5 separate regions of the Homo sapiens genome follow, and all the other regions are linked to region 1. Evidence: promoter capture Hi-C in 16 types of primary human blood cells and fetal thymus (Javierre and others, 2016). All regions are on one chromosome and are shown on one strand. The core of a region is centred on a gene start or on the middle of the fragment in contact, and the rest is flanking DNA. Distances in the headings are between cores, read along the strand shown.

Region 1 (2,907 bases), core at 235-2,734:
TTCCCTCTCCTCACCCGCACAGTGTAGTTGAAGAACTCCGCAGAGCGCAGGAAACGCAGGTACCCCTCGGTTTCAGCTGTGGCCACAGTGATCACCAGCAGCTTCTCTGTTACCAGAGGGAAATGGCACTTGAGATCCACCGCCCAGCTCCGGGCCTCACGTGCTTTGCTGTCCTCCCTCTCACTCGACTTCCCTCCCTTTCTTCCTTCCCATTCTTAAACTCTTCTCACCCAGGAACACTCTGACCCCAAGGAGGGCAGGGTGGGAGTGGTGCCCAGGAATTCCGAGTCCCTTTGCATAGGGAGGCTGGAAACCCCAGTTCAGGGTAGTGATGGGCGAGGGGCTTGGCGCGACTCAGCCTCAAGAGCACGCTGGGCGGGGGACGGGCCAGACACCTCCTCGAGCCTCCGACCCTCTCCGGGCCAGGCTGGCAGGCACGCCAGCCTCTGCCCCCTCGGCCGTGCCGGGCCTCCCCGGGATCTCACCTGGGTTGACCGGGTCTCGGCCCCGGGGCCGGTCGGAGGCTGAGGCCGCAGGGGGCAGCAGCAGCGGCAGCAGCAGCAGGAACCGGGGTCCAGGCCCCGAGGAGGTCATGGTGGGGAGCGGGCCCAGACAGCACCCAGGATCCTGGGATCTCCGCTACGCGCCTGGATCCCAGCTCCGGAGGGGAGCTCTGGAAAGGGGGCGCTCGGGCTGCTGTGCGGCCGCCGCGGGGAGCAGCTTGGCTGGGGCTACGCCCTGAAAAAAAGGCGTATCCGGAGGCTACAGAAAGCTCCAGATGCCGGCGCCACAGACAAGGCGAGGATTGTCCCGGGCGCACGGGAGGCGGGGGAGGGGCGGCGGCTCGGGCCGGCGGGCGGGAGACAGGGACTCTGGGCTGAGCCAGCCGCTTGACACATGTGGAAGCTGAAACCTGGACAGGGGAAGTGACCCCTGGCGGAGGGTCGGGCGGGACGCGGGGGCGGGTCCTGGCCGCAGCCCTGCCCAGAGAGTGCGGGCGGAAGACGGGGAGAGCGAGAGGCTGGCGGCGACAGGGAGGGAGGAAGCCTAGGAGTCCGCCGCGGGACGGAGGCCTGGGGGAACTGGGAGTTCAGCTTTCTGCAGAGGGCCACTAGGAACCTCGGATTGCCCACGGAAGCCAGCCACTTTCTTTGACAGTCCAGCCCACCTCCTCTTCTGCCCGGAGAAGCTCCAGGGGCTGCCTTTGTGATCACAGCATCTTCACAAGGACCAAAGGAAAATAAGATTTCTTGTAAGAACACCGTGACCACATCTTTAAAATGACCCATTTCGTGGCTCCCACAAGATTTACACCTCCACACTGAGGCCGGAAGTGGTTTTGCCCCTATAAAACATGGCGAAAAGCTTTCTTGTCTCCAAGGAAACGCCACGTAATGAGTCAAAGCTGTGGCGCACGCGCAGAAGTACAAGCTACCGGAAGTGATGGCGCCCCTACTAAAGCCTTGGGGTTAGTACGCGTGCGCAGCAGTTTCTTCCGACAGTTGTGTTGTGCCAATGGTGGAGAAGAAAACTTCGGGTATGTGAGCCCCCGCGGTTCGCCCCCTTCCCCTTCCCAAGTCAGTCCTAGAATTTTCTTACCTAGTCATTCCTCTTTTTTGGTCTCGCTCTTTCGCCTAGGCTGGAGTGCAGTGGCATAGTCATAGCTCACTGCAGCCTCGATTTCCTGGGATCAAACCATCCTCCCACCTCAGCCTCCGGAGTGGCTGGAACTGCAAGCATGAGGCCCCACGCCTGGTTAATTTTTAATTTGTTATGTGGTGACGGGCTCTCGCTATGTTGCCCAGGTTGGTCTCCAACTCTTGGCCTCAAAGCGATCCTCCTGCGTGGGCCTTCCAAAGTGCTGGGATTACAGGCGTGAGCTGCCGCGCCCGGCCCCAGCTATTCCTCGTAAATCCCTTCCTCAGCCCTCGGGTCCTGGCGTTGACCCTTCATTCACGTTTTATTGGTGCCTGCTCCAAGCCGGGCGCTGGGGATGAAGAGGAGAAAGACCCCTCTTATCCAAGCATTGGCTTTTTCTGGAAGGGGGGCAGAAACGCAGACCTAACACTGTATTTTACTGTGATTTGTGATTTGTGCTATGGCAGAGGGAAGCACAGCGCCTGGGAACAGGGAGACGTGGCATCTAGCCCAGGTTCTGGGAGGCAGGGGACTGTGAAAGCTTGAAGGAAAAATGAAAAAGCTTGAATTGAGTCTTGAAAGTCTAGTTAGGGTTTCTCTCAGTGGGAACCTCACGTGCAAAGGCAGTGAAGCAAGAAAAAGCAAGTCGCTTAGGAAGCCAAGTTCACAGTTTGGATCTTACAGAGTAATAAGAAAGGATCGAAGGCTGGGGAAAGGTTACATTTTGAAAGGCATTATACACACTGCCCAGGAGTTTGAACTCTGTAGGGAAACACTGGAGAGCCAGCAAAGACTTTTTTTTTTTAGACAGAGTCTTGCTCTGTCACCCAGGCTGGAATGCAGTGGTTCTATATAACTCACTGCAGCCTCAACCTCCCATGCTCAAGTGATTCTTCCACCTCAGCCACCTGAGTAGGTGGAACTACAGGTGGGTGCAGGCCACCATGCTGGGCTAGTTTTTATATTTTTTGTTGAGATGGGTGTCTCACTATGTTGCCCAGGCTGGTCTTGAACTCCTGAGCTCATGTGATCCTCCTGCCTCGGCCTTCCAAAATGCTAGGATTACAAGTATGAGCCACTGCGCTTGGCCCTTTTAGTTTTTCTTTCTTTCTTTTTTTTTCTTTTTGAGACGGAGTCTTGCTCTGTCCCCCAGGCTGGAGTGCAGTGGCGCAATCTCGGTTCACTGCAAGCTCTGCCTCCCGGGTTCACACCATTCTCTGGCCTCAGCTTCTGGAGTAGCTGGGACTACAGGCGCCCGCCACCACACCC
Region 2 (2,907 bases), core at 408-2,907, 1.2 Mb after region 1:
CTCCCAAAGTGCTGGAATTACAGGTGTGAGCCACTGTGCCCGGCCTGTCCTTCCTTTTTAAGGCTGAATAGTATTCTACTATGTGTATGCACCACATTTTGTGGATCAAGTCATCTCTTTTTTTTTTTTTTTTTTTTTTTTTGAGAAGGAGTCTTGCTCTGTCACCTGAGCTGGAGTGCAGTGGTGCGATCTTGGCTCACTGCAACCTCTGCCTCCTGGGTTCAAGCGATTCTCCTGCCTCAGCCTCCCGAGTAGCTGGGATTACAGATGTGCCTCACCAAGCCCGGCAAGTTTTTGTAATTTTAGTAGAGGCAGGGTTTCGCCATGTTAGCCAGGCAGGTCTCAAACTCCTGACCTCAGGTGATCTGCCCACCTCAGCCTCCCAAAGTGCTGGGATTACAGGCGTGAGCCACTGAACCCGGCCCAGGTATCTTGATAGATGCTTGGTTTGCTTCCATCTTTGGGCTGTCATGAATAATGTCGTGAATATGAACATGGGTGTGCAAATATCTCTTCCAGACCCTGCTTTTAGTTCCTTTGGATATATACCCAGAAGCAGGATTGCGGATCATGGGTAATTCTATGTTTAATTCATGAGGCATGCCATGCTGTTTCCATAGGACCTTGGGCACTTTTACCATGGACGTTGGGGCAGTCTTCACTGGCTTACCAGCCTCCACACCTTCATATCTGCCCGTTCCCTTCCCAGGATCTTTCTAAAATTCACATTTGACTTCATCACTCCTTTAAAACCCTTCAAGAGCTCTCCAGGGCCTTTGGGACAAGTCCAGCCTGCTCAGCTGATGCACCGGGGAGCATCTGTGATCAGACCTCCCCCCCCCCACAACCTCTCCAGCCTCATCTCTCTCACCTGAGGCATCACCAATCCACCTTCCTACCCCACGCAGTTTTCTGGGTTGGAATGCCCTTGCAACCAACCACAGTCCTTCCATGCCAGCCCAAAGGCGCTGAGTTCTTTTTCTTTTTTTATTTATTTTCTTTTTGTGAGACAGAGTCTCGCTCTGTCGCCCAGGCTGAAGTGAGGTGGCTCGATCATAGCTCACTGCAGCCTCCAGCTCCTGGGTTGCAGCGATCCTTGAGTTCCTTTTCGTTAGTTAACTGGAATTCACTGTCTCCTTGCCCATTGCAGTCCACGGCCTTCAGGCACCGTTGGACTGGTATTCAGCACCCTCGATCGACCCTTTCCGTGTCATCTCCCTGCAGGCCCGTGAAGCTCCCAGCGCCAGACCCGAGAGGCTACGTCGAGGTTTACAGGCAGATCCCCCCAGAGTCCCCGAGGTGACCTGTAATCGAACCCACCCACGTTCCAGCTCCTTCCCCACTCCCAAGCCCGCTCCTTAAAGCCCTCATCTCCTCACCCTGCATCACCCCTACCGTAAGGGTCCCTCACAGGCTTCGATCCCGGCCCCTATCATGGCCAAGCTGGACCTCAGTTTCCCCAGATGCAGAGCGACGTTTGTGGGCGCGGCCCCTCTCCCACCCCTTACCGCTGGGGGCAGCTCCCAGGGCGGGTCACTGCCGCGCTGCCGCTCGCAGATCAGACAGGTCCGGATGCCCTTGCAACCGCATTCCCGAAGGACTTCGGGGGTCTCGGCGGCAGCCGCCGCCATCGCGCCGTCCGCGTGGCCAGTGCGCAGGCGCGGCCGTGGGGGCCGCTGGGAGTTGTAGTCCGCGCCGGGCGGGGGCACGAGGCCTGGGTTCCGCTTCCTTCCGGTCGTTAACGCCCACGGGCTCGCGCGGCGCCGCCTCCTGGGCTCAGTTACCGCGGACGCCAGTGCCGGGCTCCAGGAGACGCAGGGCGACGCCACACGCCGGGGTGGCCGACTGGGTCAGCGCGGGCTGCGCCTCCTCGCCATGGGCCCCCTCTCGGCGCGGCTGCTAATGCAGCGCGGGCGCCCCAAGAGCGACCGGCTGGGGAAGATCCGGAGTCTGGAGTAAGAGCCGGGCAGCGGGTGAGGCTGTGTCCTCGGGGCCGGGCGGTCGGGGAGAAGAGCGGGGACCCTCCCCAACGGCCCGCTTGTCCCCGTTATCGCCCTCTGGGTTCGGCAGAGTGGTCCAAATGTCTTCTTGTTGGGAGATCGTGGCCCCACCCGCTCGCCGGGAGCCCCGAGGGGCCTCATCCCCTGAAGGGAGCCCGGACAGTTAGGGGCACAGCCTGCCGCTATCGTTAGAGGGCCTGGGAAGCACAGACGAGCCCCCGAAGGATCAGGAAGAGCATCCTAGAGGGGGCTAGGATGCCCCCGAGTCCTAAAGTAGTTGCAGCTTTTTTTTTTTTTTTTTTTTTTTTTTTTTTTTTTTTGTTAAGTGGTGTGGAGTCGGGAGTAGTGGCGCGCGCTTCTAGTCCCAGCTACTCGAGAGGCTGAGGCGGGAGGATCCCTCAGCCCAGGAGTTGGAGGCAGCTGTGAGCTATGATCGCGCCTAGGCGACTGAGTGACACCCCGTCTCTAAAAATAAAGTAACGGGGGGATGGGCGGGGCGGCTACACTTGTACGAGAAATGTCAGGTGAAAAAGCCTTCTGAGGTACCCGGGGCAGATTGGTGTAGGGTGCAAAGCCTGCCCGCCCCCTAAGCCTTCTGCCCCCAACTCCAGCCTGTCAGGATTGGAGCTGCTTTCCGAGCACCTGGACCCCAAACTCCTGTGCCGCCTGACGCAGCTGCAGGAGCTTGACCTGTCTAACAACCACCTGGAGACGCTGCCGGACAACCTGGGCCTGTCCCACCTGCGTGTCCTCCGCTGCGCCAACAACCAGCTGGGGGATGTTACTGCCTTGTGCCAGTTCCCCAAGCTCGAGGAACTCAGCCTGGAGGGCAACCCCTTCCTGACGGTAAGTGGGAGCCTCCCACCAGCTTCATACCTGGGGCCAGGACTCTGTTGGGCTCAGGCTC
Region 3 (2,907 bases), core at 132-2,631, 1.2 Mb after region 1:
TCTTCATGGTGCCATCCAACACCCTGGGCAGGGGCCAAGCAAGGTGGCCCATGCCTCTATGCCCAGCACTTTGGGAGGCTGAGGTGGGAGGATCACTTGAGCCCAGGAGTTCGAGACCAGCAGAGGCAACATAGCAAGACCCATCTCAATTTTTTTAAAAAATTTAAAAATTAGCTGGACATTGTGGCACATGCCTGTAATCCCAGTGCTTTGAGAGGCTAAGAGAGGATTGCTTGAGGCCAGGAGTTTAAGACCAGTCTGGGCAATACAGGAAGACTCTATCTCTAAAAAAAGAATTTTTTTTTTTTTTTTTGGCTGGGCACAGTGGCTCACATGTATCATCCCAGCACTTTGGGAGGCCGAGGCAGGCAGGATCACCTGAGGTCAGGAGTTCAAGACCAGTCCGGCCAACATGGTGAAACCCCATCTCTACTAAACATACAAAAAAGTAGCCAGGCTAGTGGCGTGCACCTGTAGCTCGGAGGCTGAGACAGGAGAATCGTTTCAACCCCGGGGTCGGGGGTTGCAGTGAGCCAAGATGGCACCACTGCACTCCAGCCTGGGTGACAGGGCAAAACTCCCTCTCAAAAAACAAACAAAAACAAATTTTTTAAAAACTACCACGGTGTGGTGGCTCCTGCCTACATGTAGCCTCAGCACTTTGGGTGACTGAGGGCAGAGGATCACTCGAGCTCAGGAATTCGAGGCTGCATTGAACCGTGATCGCACCACTGCAGTCCAGCCTGGGCGACAGAGCCAGACCCTGTCTCAAAAAAATAAAAAAAAAAATCCTGTGAAAACTCGGGCGTGGCCAGACGGATTCTCCCCTCCCCACCTTCCTTTCCCCTCCACTGCCCACCTGCACCCGCCCGCCCTGTCCCCACTCCCCGCCCCTCTACGCAGCCAGCGTCCAATGCTGGGCACCCCCCGAGGCTCACCCTGCCAAGCCTGGGGCTCCCCTTTTGCGCCCGGACCCAGGGGCAGGGAAAGCCCAGCTCGTGGTCTGTGGGTAGCCGGACCCCCGATGGGGCGGTGGGGGGCCTCGCCTTGACTCCCAGAGCTGGGGCCGGGGACAGGAGCTGGGGCAGGAGGGATGCGCGCGGGTCGGGGTCTTCCCACCTCCCCTGCTCCTCTCCCTCGCGCGATCCCGGGGTGGTTCCAGGTGAGGCGGGGACCCCCACCCCCCCACTCTCCGAGGAGGCGCCGCCAGCCCCGCCCCTCCCGGCCCGGCGGGTGACGTGGCCGCGGCTCTCCCGCGGGTGGGTCACGTGTTGGCGGCGCCTGGTTGCCTTGGCAGCGGCTGCGGCGGCCGCGGGGGCGGGGTGGAGGCGGGGCCGGGGGACCCCGCGCGACCGGCGGAAGGAGGGAGGGGGCCGCGCTCGGCGCCCCGGCCGGGCCACTGGGCCACAGGCCACGCGGCCACGCAGTCCGAGCGGGAGCCGAGCCGGGCGGGGCGAGGGCAGCTCCGGTGAGTGTGGCGGCGCGGGGGCCTGGCGCGGGGAGCGGGGTCCCTGCGGCTGGGGGGGCCGGAATTGGACCGGGGACGCTCGGCGGGGAAGGGGACGACTGTAGGCTGCCCGGGCGCGGTCACTACCCATCCGGGGTTGGTGACCTCCACCCCGCGGGATCCCTGGCGGGGTGCGGCGCCCAGAGGATCAGGGTCGGCGGCGCAGCCGGTTCCGGACACCGGGGCGTCCCTGGGGGAGGGACAGGGATGCAGCCTAGCGCCCCTGGGAGGCCCCCTCCCAGTGCGCCTGCTGGAGAGAGACACTCGCCATTGCCGGTGCCCCAGATGCTTAGAGGAAGTCAAACTCCAAGACCGCCCTCTGGAAATGTGTCCAGTAGGCCAGCCAGGAAGAAAAGCTCATCTCTAGAGAGGGGATCGCGTTATTCTACAAGACCTGTTTTCTCGGACTGCTCATTAAAGCAAAAAAAAAAAAAAAAAAAAAAAAGCAACCCCACAAGGTTCAGTCCCGGAGCATCCTCTAGGGTCTGTGCCACCTGACAGAAGTACAGGGCTCCATCCTGCCCCACCCCACCCCCTGCCTGGGATCCAGTGTGAGGCCCAGACTCTGTCCCTCCCCCTGGGCCACCGGGCCTGGCACACACAGTTGGCATTGGGAACATAAAGGATGGATTTGAACCCCCTCCTGGGCTGCTCCTTCGAGACCTGGAGACCTGTCTCAAGACCCAGCTCCAGGCAGACAGACATCGTTTCCTCCACAATCCCACCCACTCTGGGGACATCTGCAGGGCCTCACCGATGGGGCATGGGAGGCCTGGCGGCTCCCAGGAAGCCACCCTCAGCCCTCACTGCCCTGAGCTCTTCACCTCCACTCTCAGACCTGAGCCCAGCCCACCCTTACTGATGGGGCATCCCTCTTGTTCACCCTTCCTTCCTTTGGAGGCCACCAGGCTCTCCCTTGCGTCCCACTCCTGCCAGTCGGCCAGCCATTTCCCTGGGTTGAACTGTGGTCCCAAACCAGAATGATCTAGCAGTGCCCAGACCGTTCCACTCACCAATTTCTTCCATTCTCCTGTGGCTGGACGCCCAGTCATGCTGCCCAGACCCTCTGGCTCATTCCACAGCCCCAGGCTCCAAGTGTCTTCCACCCACATCTCCCTGCCCCCTCCACCCCCCAGGTGGCAGCCAGTCTTCCCTCCATATCTCCTGGACAAGGAGAGCCACCCCACATGTACACCTGGAGTGGCCTTCCCGTCTCTCGGAATCCTTCCATGCAGGCAGCATCTTGTCTTTGAGGAAAGGTCCCTCTTTTTTAAAATTCTTTTTAGAGGCCAGGCGCAGTGGTTCATGCCTATAATCTCAGCACTTTGGGAGGCCAAGGTGGGCGGATCACTTGAGCTCAGGAGTTCTAGACCAGCCTGGCCAACATAGCAAAACCCTGT
Region 4 (2,907 bases), core at 408-2,907, 1.1 Mb before region 1:
GGCAGGTCAAAGGTCTGACTCCAGAGAAAAAGGCAACAGCTCCCTCTCACAGCTGGGTTAAGTGAAGCTGGAACTCAAAGGCATATTGTTGAGAACAAGCACCCAGTGTCCAGATCAGTAAACAGCGTTTCTCACAGAAAGAAAACTCTCCATTGTGCCCCCATGGCTTCAGGTCCAGACAGGGCCCTTCCCCTGCTCTGTTGCCAGCCTCACTCCCTGGTGCTGCCCGTGGGGACCGAGATAGATGGCCTGGCAGTAAGAACAAGACACGGAAAGCTTTACCTGCCTGATTCTTTCCTTCCTTCTTTGAAGTCAGTCCCTAGAAGGCCAAAGGAGCAATTACTGGGAATTTAGCAGCCTCTGTTCAAGTTCCCGGGAATTCTGACTTTTGTTGATGCCAATGCTGTGTGATTAAGGGGAAAAAAAGGAATTTAAAATATTCATGCAAACGTCTTTTTTTTTCCATGAGACAGGGTCTGACTCTGCTGCTCAGGCTGGAGTGCAGTGAGTTTGAGCTCACTCCAGACTCAAACTCCTAAGTTCAAGTGATCCTCCCAGCTCAGCCTCCCAAGGAGCTGGGACTAAAGGTGTGCACTGCCACATCTGGCTGAGTTTTTTAAAATTCTTTTTGTAGAAATGCAGCCTCACTGTGTTGCTCAGGCTGGTCTCAATCTCCTGGCCTCAAGTGATTCTCCCACCTCAGCCTCCCAAAGTGCTGGGATTACAGGCATGAGCCACCGAGTCCAGCCTAAACTTCATTTCTAATCAAGACATTTAAAGAAAAGGAAAAAAAAGAGAATACTTATTATATGCTAATAAATACCAATTAAGACCACCACCACAACTAGTATTTGCGTTGCACCCGTGGAGAGATGAAAGGGAATGGTAGGTTCTCAGGTCCACCTCCACCCAGGGTAAGAAAGTTCTAACGTTCTGTCAGCTAACTTGCTAGACACTGTGCTCCGAACTACTTCAGCAGGGGATCCACATTGCACAGCTGAGCCATTAGAAGTCTTCAGGTGATTCGCTGAAAATCTATCTCCTTGGACCTTCACCGCACAGAGACCTAGTGCATCACAGAAATTCAATGACTGGCGACCTGCAGTGGCTCACGCCTGTAACCCCAGCACTTTAGGAGGCTGAGGTGGGAGGATTACTTGAGCCCAGGAGTTCCAGGCTATGGTGAGCCATGATGGCACCACGGCACTCCAGCCGGGGGCAACAGAGCAAGACCTTAATACACACACAAACATTTTAAAAGGAAAAAAAAAAAAAAGGCCGGGCGCGGTGGCTAACGCCTGTAATCCCAACACTTTGGGAGGCCAAGGCAGGTGGATCACTTGAGGCCAGGAGTTGCAGACCAGCCTGGCCAAAAGGGCGGAACCCCGTCTCTACTAAAAATACAAAAAATTCGCCGGAGGTGGTGGCGGGCGCCTGTAGTCCCAACCACTCGGGAGGCTGAAGCAGGAGAAGCGCTTGAACCGGGAGGCGGAGGTTGCAGTGAGCCGAGATCGCGCCACTGCACTCCAGAGACAGTCTCAAAAATAAATAAAAATTAATTTTTTTAAAAAAAGAGCTTCAATAACAGAATCTTCTCCTTCCACCCGACTGTCCATCAAACACGTATAATCAAATGATGCCCACTCTCCACAGATGTCTTTTCTGGAGAAAATAATACGCTCGTTCCTCTAATTAGCCCATCGGTTTCAGGTTCATCACTCTGCTATCTTCTCCTGGAGTTTACAAAAGCCCTTCAGAGTGTAAACACCGATGTGGATTCAATCCCACTTCCGGAGAGAGGATCAAACCAGGAATCTAATACAACTGAAAACGGAGCCTGAGCCAGGTGTATCACGCGATGCACTGGGCTCCAGCAGGATTACCCCTGGAATCGGCGTCTGCACCCACTCCCAGCCCTCGTGCTAACTGCGTACGCTTAGCAGAATTTCTCTGATCCTTGGACCCAGCTGCGTAAAAATAAACTTCCTCTCCTGCCACGGGCGCGAATAACTGTGTTAACATCAAATAAAAACGTCTGGGAGAAATACCAAGTTAGGGTCGCTGTCATTAGCTGCTTTCAAGAGAGAGGCGCCCCTACCGCTCTGCTGAAACTTTTAAACGCTCCAGCTGGGTCGCCGTTAAAGTCACAAAACCAGAACCGGAGCCCCATTACTAACCCCTACGCAGGATCCCGCTAGGCTAGGGGGATCCCTGGGGAAGCGGAGTAGAGGACGGGCTGCAGGGGACGGAGGGGCGCCTCCCCGAACCCTGCTCCGGGCCGGCCGGGGGACCCTGCGGGCCGCAGTGGCACAGACACCACCCCCTTCCCCGGCGACCACAGCCTCCGTCTCACCGCGAGACCCGGGGACGCGTGGACTCACCCTGGGGGCAGGGACGACAGATTTGGGGGACCGGACACGGACCAGGCCCTGTTGGACCCTGTCACAGACCCACACACCGGGGACAGAACAAAGAACGGAAGTTCCCCCTCGTTTCGCTTCCGGGTCGGTTGTTCTTGCCACTCACCCGTACCCCCAACGCCCACTTGTTCTGTCTAGGAAAATGGGAGGTCCTCGCCTCTCTGTGGTTTGCTGACTCAGGGCGGCTGGCAGGCGGCGAGGGCAAGGAGCGCGATCGCTGACGCGGCACTCGGGGATCTTTCGCTGCGGGGGCTGGCCGGCTGCGCCCTCTGCTGGCCACGAATGTGCGAAAGCGGCCGACCACGGTCCTGGGCCTCAGGACATGTGCTCCAGCGTCGCCGGCCTTGGGGGCGGGCGGCGGGGGCGCGCGGGGATGTCGAGCCCGCGCTTCTCAGGCTGGCTCGCGAAGGGCAGCAGTAAACATACAATTATTGAAGGATTCATCAATATTAAAAAATGAACCCTGATTTAAAACTTGCCTCCGAAC
Region 5 (2,907 bases), core at 205-2,704, 1.1 Mb after region 1:
TCTGCCCTAAAGCAGGCGAGTTCTGGAGCCAGGCAGGGGTGAGGAAGGTGCCAGGGTTGTGGCCCCTCATCGCCCCTCTATGATCTCTGACACCTCTCCGGGTGGCATCAGGCCCCCATCACAGCGAAGGCTGGGTGGTGGGGGCACTGCGCTCAGGGGGGCCGTCCCGCCCTGTGGCCCGGGGGCGATTTCCCGCACCGGAGGGCTGCAGGGAGGGGGCGTGGTGGCGCCCTCGAGATTTATGAGAACCAGGCGTCGACTTCCTCCGTTGCGACATCCAGGCCTCCTCCAGGCTCCCATTGTCCCTGCTGCGGAGAGTCTGGCCACAGCGGCGGCTCCCGCGAAGCACCCGTCAGCGAGGGGCGCTTCGAGGGCGTCCGCGTCCCATACACCCGCCACGCAGGACATTCCCCCGGCCCCACGCTCCGCGCTCCCGGGGCCACCACCACCGCGGGCTCGAGGGGTGGCCTCCACGAGGAGGAGTGGGAGTCCCGCGCCTGGCCTGGGGCCGGCTCGGCGACATGGGGACCCCCGCCCAGATGGGGCGACTCGGAGCCGGCTCCTAACCCCTCTCTCCGGGCCCCAGGACCGGGCAGTCTCGGCACCGCAGCTGCGGGGAGCCAGCAAGCACCGGCCACCGGCGCCGCTCGGGCTCCGCGGATGGCCGGGGGCGGGGCCTGAGCGGCGCAAGTGGGGGCGGGAGGGGGCGGGGCCAGGACGCGCGAGGGGGGGCGGGGCCGGGGCTCGCGGCGGGGGCGGGGGCGGGGCGGGGCCGGGAGGCGCGCGCCTCGCGGGCGGAGGGGCGCGCCGCGCTGGGGCTGGGCTTGGAGCGCGCGGAGCTCGGCTGCCAGAGAGCCGCGCGGGGGACGCGCCGGGACCGCGAGGAGCGCAGGAGCCTTCGAGGCGGTGAACGAGGGAGGGAGCCCAGTCCGCCGCGGGCCATGAGCCACCGGGCCCGGGGAGCCCGGCCGCGGTCCGGGCAGCGCTCAGCCGGCGCCCCAGCCCGCTCGGCCGCAGCTGCGCGCCTGTAGGTATGGCCTCCTTATACCCAGTTCCTCGCTCCCTGGTCCTTCCCCCGGGACCCCTGTCTGTCCCCGGGGACGTGCGCTGTGTGCGCACCGCTGCCCGAAGGAGAGCGGCCGCACGCGCCTTGGTCCGCGCGTGTCGTCTTTGTGTGCGCGGGTGGGAGGGAGGAGGGCGCGCGAGGGAGGGGAGGCGCCCCCGGCTGGGATCTGCTCCCCGATCCCCATCCCGGGCGGGGCGGGGAGCCGCTGGAGGGGCCGAGCCGCCTCTGGAGCAGCTGCGCCCCCGCCCCCTGCTAGGGCCCCGGCCGGGTAGTGGGGCGAGAGCAGCCGGGTCCTTAGAGGAGGGGTCTCTGGTTGGGGGAAGGGGTGCCCAGGTCTCTTCCCTACGCTGGGAGCGCTGGGAGGGGGCGTCAACCTAGAATGAGGGTGAGGGCCACGGGATGGGATCGGGGAGGACCTCCTCCAGGCCACAGGCACGCCCTCCCTTTGGCCCAGGCCCCCCTTTCTCGACCTGCCCAGCCGGGGAGCTCCCCGGAGCCCCCGATTGCCGGGAGGATCGTGGAGGGTGCCCAAGAGGCCGGCGCCTTTAAGAAGGGGCGGGTTCGTGCCCTCCATTCAGGCCCTTGGGCCTCGGCCATTGATGAACCTGCGGGCTGCGCGGGCCGGAACCGCGCCAGCCCAGCGGGCTGAAGCCGGGCAGAGGCAGGGACGCATCCTGGCCCCCTGCAGCCCCGAAGTGGGGGCCTTCAGGGAGGGAAGTCTGCAGTGACTGGAGCCTCTCAGGAGCCACGCAAGGCAGACCGGGCAGCCCCAGGCGAGACTCTGAACACGAATAAGCCAGGATCTACGTGCACTTCGAGCTAGTGCAAGGGAGAGCCTCAGGCTAGGCTGTCAGACCTGGGTGGAGCCCTACCAATGCCCCCGAGCCAACATCACCTACCCTGTAAAATGGGATGGTGCTGCCTGCCTCCTGGCTAAGGGACCGGCAACTCCCGGCAGGAATTGCGTCCCAGAGTCAGGTCCCTGGAGCTCCTCTGGGAGGACTGGGGGCAGGGGGTGTGGTTTCCCCAAGAGGTTTTGACTGCCTCTTGAGCTGAAGCCCCCACTACTGTGTCCCACCTTGAACTCTCCCAACCTCTTCCCTCCTGGCCTCCCCACTCCACGCAGGAAGAGGTTGGGAGAGTGACCTAGAACTTTTCAGCTCCAGGAGCTTTGGGAGAGGTCTGGTGGTGGCGGTGGTGGCACTTCTTTTAGGCTAGTGTGGATCAGGGCATTTTTGGGGGTCTCAGAGACAGTTTCCCACCAGCTACTTCCTTAGAGGTCTGTCCTACCAACATACAAGAACAGCCCCACCCCGTGGCAGGCCGGCTTCTGATGCTGCTTGGTTGAATGCTTCTAGGTAATCAAGGGTTAATGCACACGCTTTTCTTTTTACCCTTGTTGTGAAAAATCTGTCTGAAGTTTCTAAATCCCTCTTCCCTACTTAGCGTGAATCTCCTAGGGAGGACTTCTATACAAATACCCAGGGGTGGGCTTCCCTTGGGGGTCTTGGAAGTGGGATCTCCACCCAAGTGATCCTGGGCCTCCCAGGGCTGAGCTTTTGGTTTCAAACTTACTTGTGCCAAGCTAAGGGCATCAGGATCGCCGTTCGTGTCATCTTTACAACAATCCTGTGGGTTTAGTGCTATTATTATCCCCACACACTTAGGGAGGGGAAGTGACTGGCCCAAAGTCCCGCAGTCAACGAGCCAGGCCTCCCAACCACTCCTCTCTGACAAGAGGCTGGCACTTCTTGCCCTGCCTACCCAGCCTGGGTTGCAAGGAATTGGGGGTTTAGGGGCTTCAGGCCTCCTGGCTGCTGTCTTCCCGGGGCTACGCTCAT

The links. The method cuts DNA at HindIII sites, captures the fragments that hold promoters and counts their contacts. A CHiCAGO score of 5 or more calls a contact.
Region 2: a contact is called between the fragment with the promoter of ALKBH4 here and the fragment with the promoter of ZNHIT1 in region 1, in 3 of 17 cell types (naive CD8 T cells, megakaryocytes and endothelial precursors). The highest score is 7.7, in naive CD8 T cells.
Region 3: a contact is called between the fragment with the promoter of ORAI2 here and the fragment with the promoter of ZNHIT1 in region 1, in 3 of 17 cell types (naive CD8 T cells, total CD4 T cells and non-activated CD4 T cells). The highest score is 7.3, in naive CD8 T cells.
Region 4: a contact is called between a fragment that was not itself captured here and the fragment with the promoter of ZNHIT1 in region 1, in 1 of 17 cell types (fetal thymus). The highest score is 5.6, in fetal thymus.
Region 5: a fragment that was not itself captured here is called in contact with the fragment with the promoter of ZNHIT1 in region 1 in 6 of 17 cell types (naive CD4 T cells, non-activated CD4 T cells, fetal thymus and 3 more); the score reaches 7.9 in naive CD4 T cells.

Annotation. Positions count from the first base shown.
Region 1 is chr7:101,216,681-101,219,587 of GRCh38, forward strand. It overlaps ZNHIT1 (zinc finger HIT-type containing 1), which reads left to right and starts at 1,485. Exons shown (of 5, transcript NM_006349.3): 1 at 1,485-1,537. The coding sequence starts at 1,516. It overlaps PLOD3 (procollagen-lysine,2-oxoglutarate 5-dioxygenase 3), which reads right to left and starts at 901. Exons shown (of 19, transcript NM_001084.5): 1 at 486-901; 2 at 15-106. The coding sequence starts at 594. RefSeq lists enhancers at 7-529, 1,078-1,197, 1,291-1,832 and silencers at 328-447, 508-557, 698-977. The HindIII fragment of the contact is 814 bases long and covers 1,364-2,177 here.
Region 2 is chr7:102,463,206-102,466,112 of GRCh38, forward strand. It overlaps ALKBH4 (alkB homolog 4, lysine demethylase), which reads right to left and starts at 1,658. Exons shown (of 3, transcript NM_017621.4): 1 at 1,509-1,658. The coding sequence starts at 1,631. It overlaps LRWD1 (leucine rich repeats and WD repeat domain containing 1), which reads left to right and starts at 1,779. Exons shown (of 15, transcript NM_152892.3): 1 at 1,779-1,955; 2 at 2,612-2,846. The coding sequence starts at 1,876. MIR5090 (microRNA 5090) reads left to right here and starts at 2,537; the gene lies at 2,537-2,621. RefSeq lists enhancers at 1,401-2,050, 2,180-2,706, 2,330-2,429, 2,707-2,907 and a silencer at 1,560-1,989. The HindIII fragment of the contact is 18,940 bases long and covers 1-2,907 here.
Region 3 is chr7:102,432,194-102,435,100 of GRCh38, forward strand. It overlaps ORAI2 (ORAI calcium release-activated calcium modulator 2), which reads left to right and starts at 1,382. Exons shown (of 4, transcript NM_001126340.3): 1 at 1,382-1,468. RefSeq lists silencers at 842-981, 1,012-1,791. The HindIII fragment of the contact is 6,966 bases long and covers 1-2,907 here.
Region 4 is chr7:100,079,254-100,082,160 of GRCh38, forward strand. ZNF3 (zinc finger protein 3) reads right to left here and starts at 2,470. Exons shown (of 6, transcript NM_032924.5): 1 at 2,382-2,470; 2 at 283-403. RefSeq lists enhancers at 2,409-2,558, 2,715-2,907 and a silencer at 2,799-2,878. The HindIII fragment of the contact is 2,766 bases long and covers 275-2,907 here.
Region 5 is chr7:102,286,064-102,288,970 of GRCh38, forward strand. It overlaps SH2B2 (SH2B adaptor protein 2), which reads left to right and starts at 805. Exons shown (of 9, transcript NM_001359228.2): 1 at 805-1,031. RefSeq lists silencers at 123-702, 773-1,312 and an enhancer at 2,463-2,552. The HindIII fragment of the contact is 4,125 bases long and covers 1-2,907 here.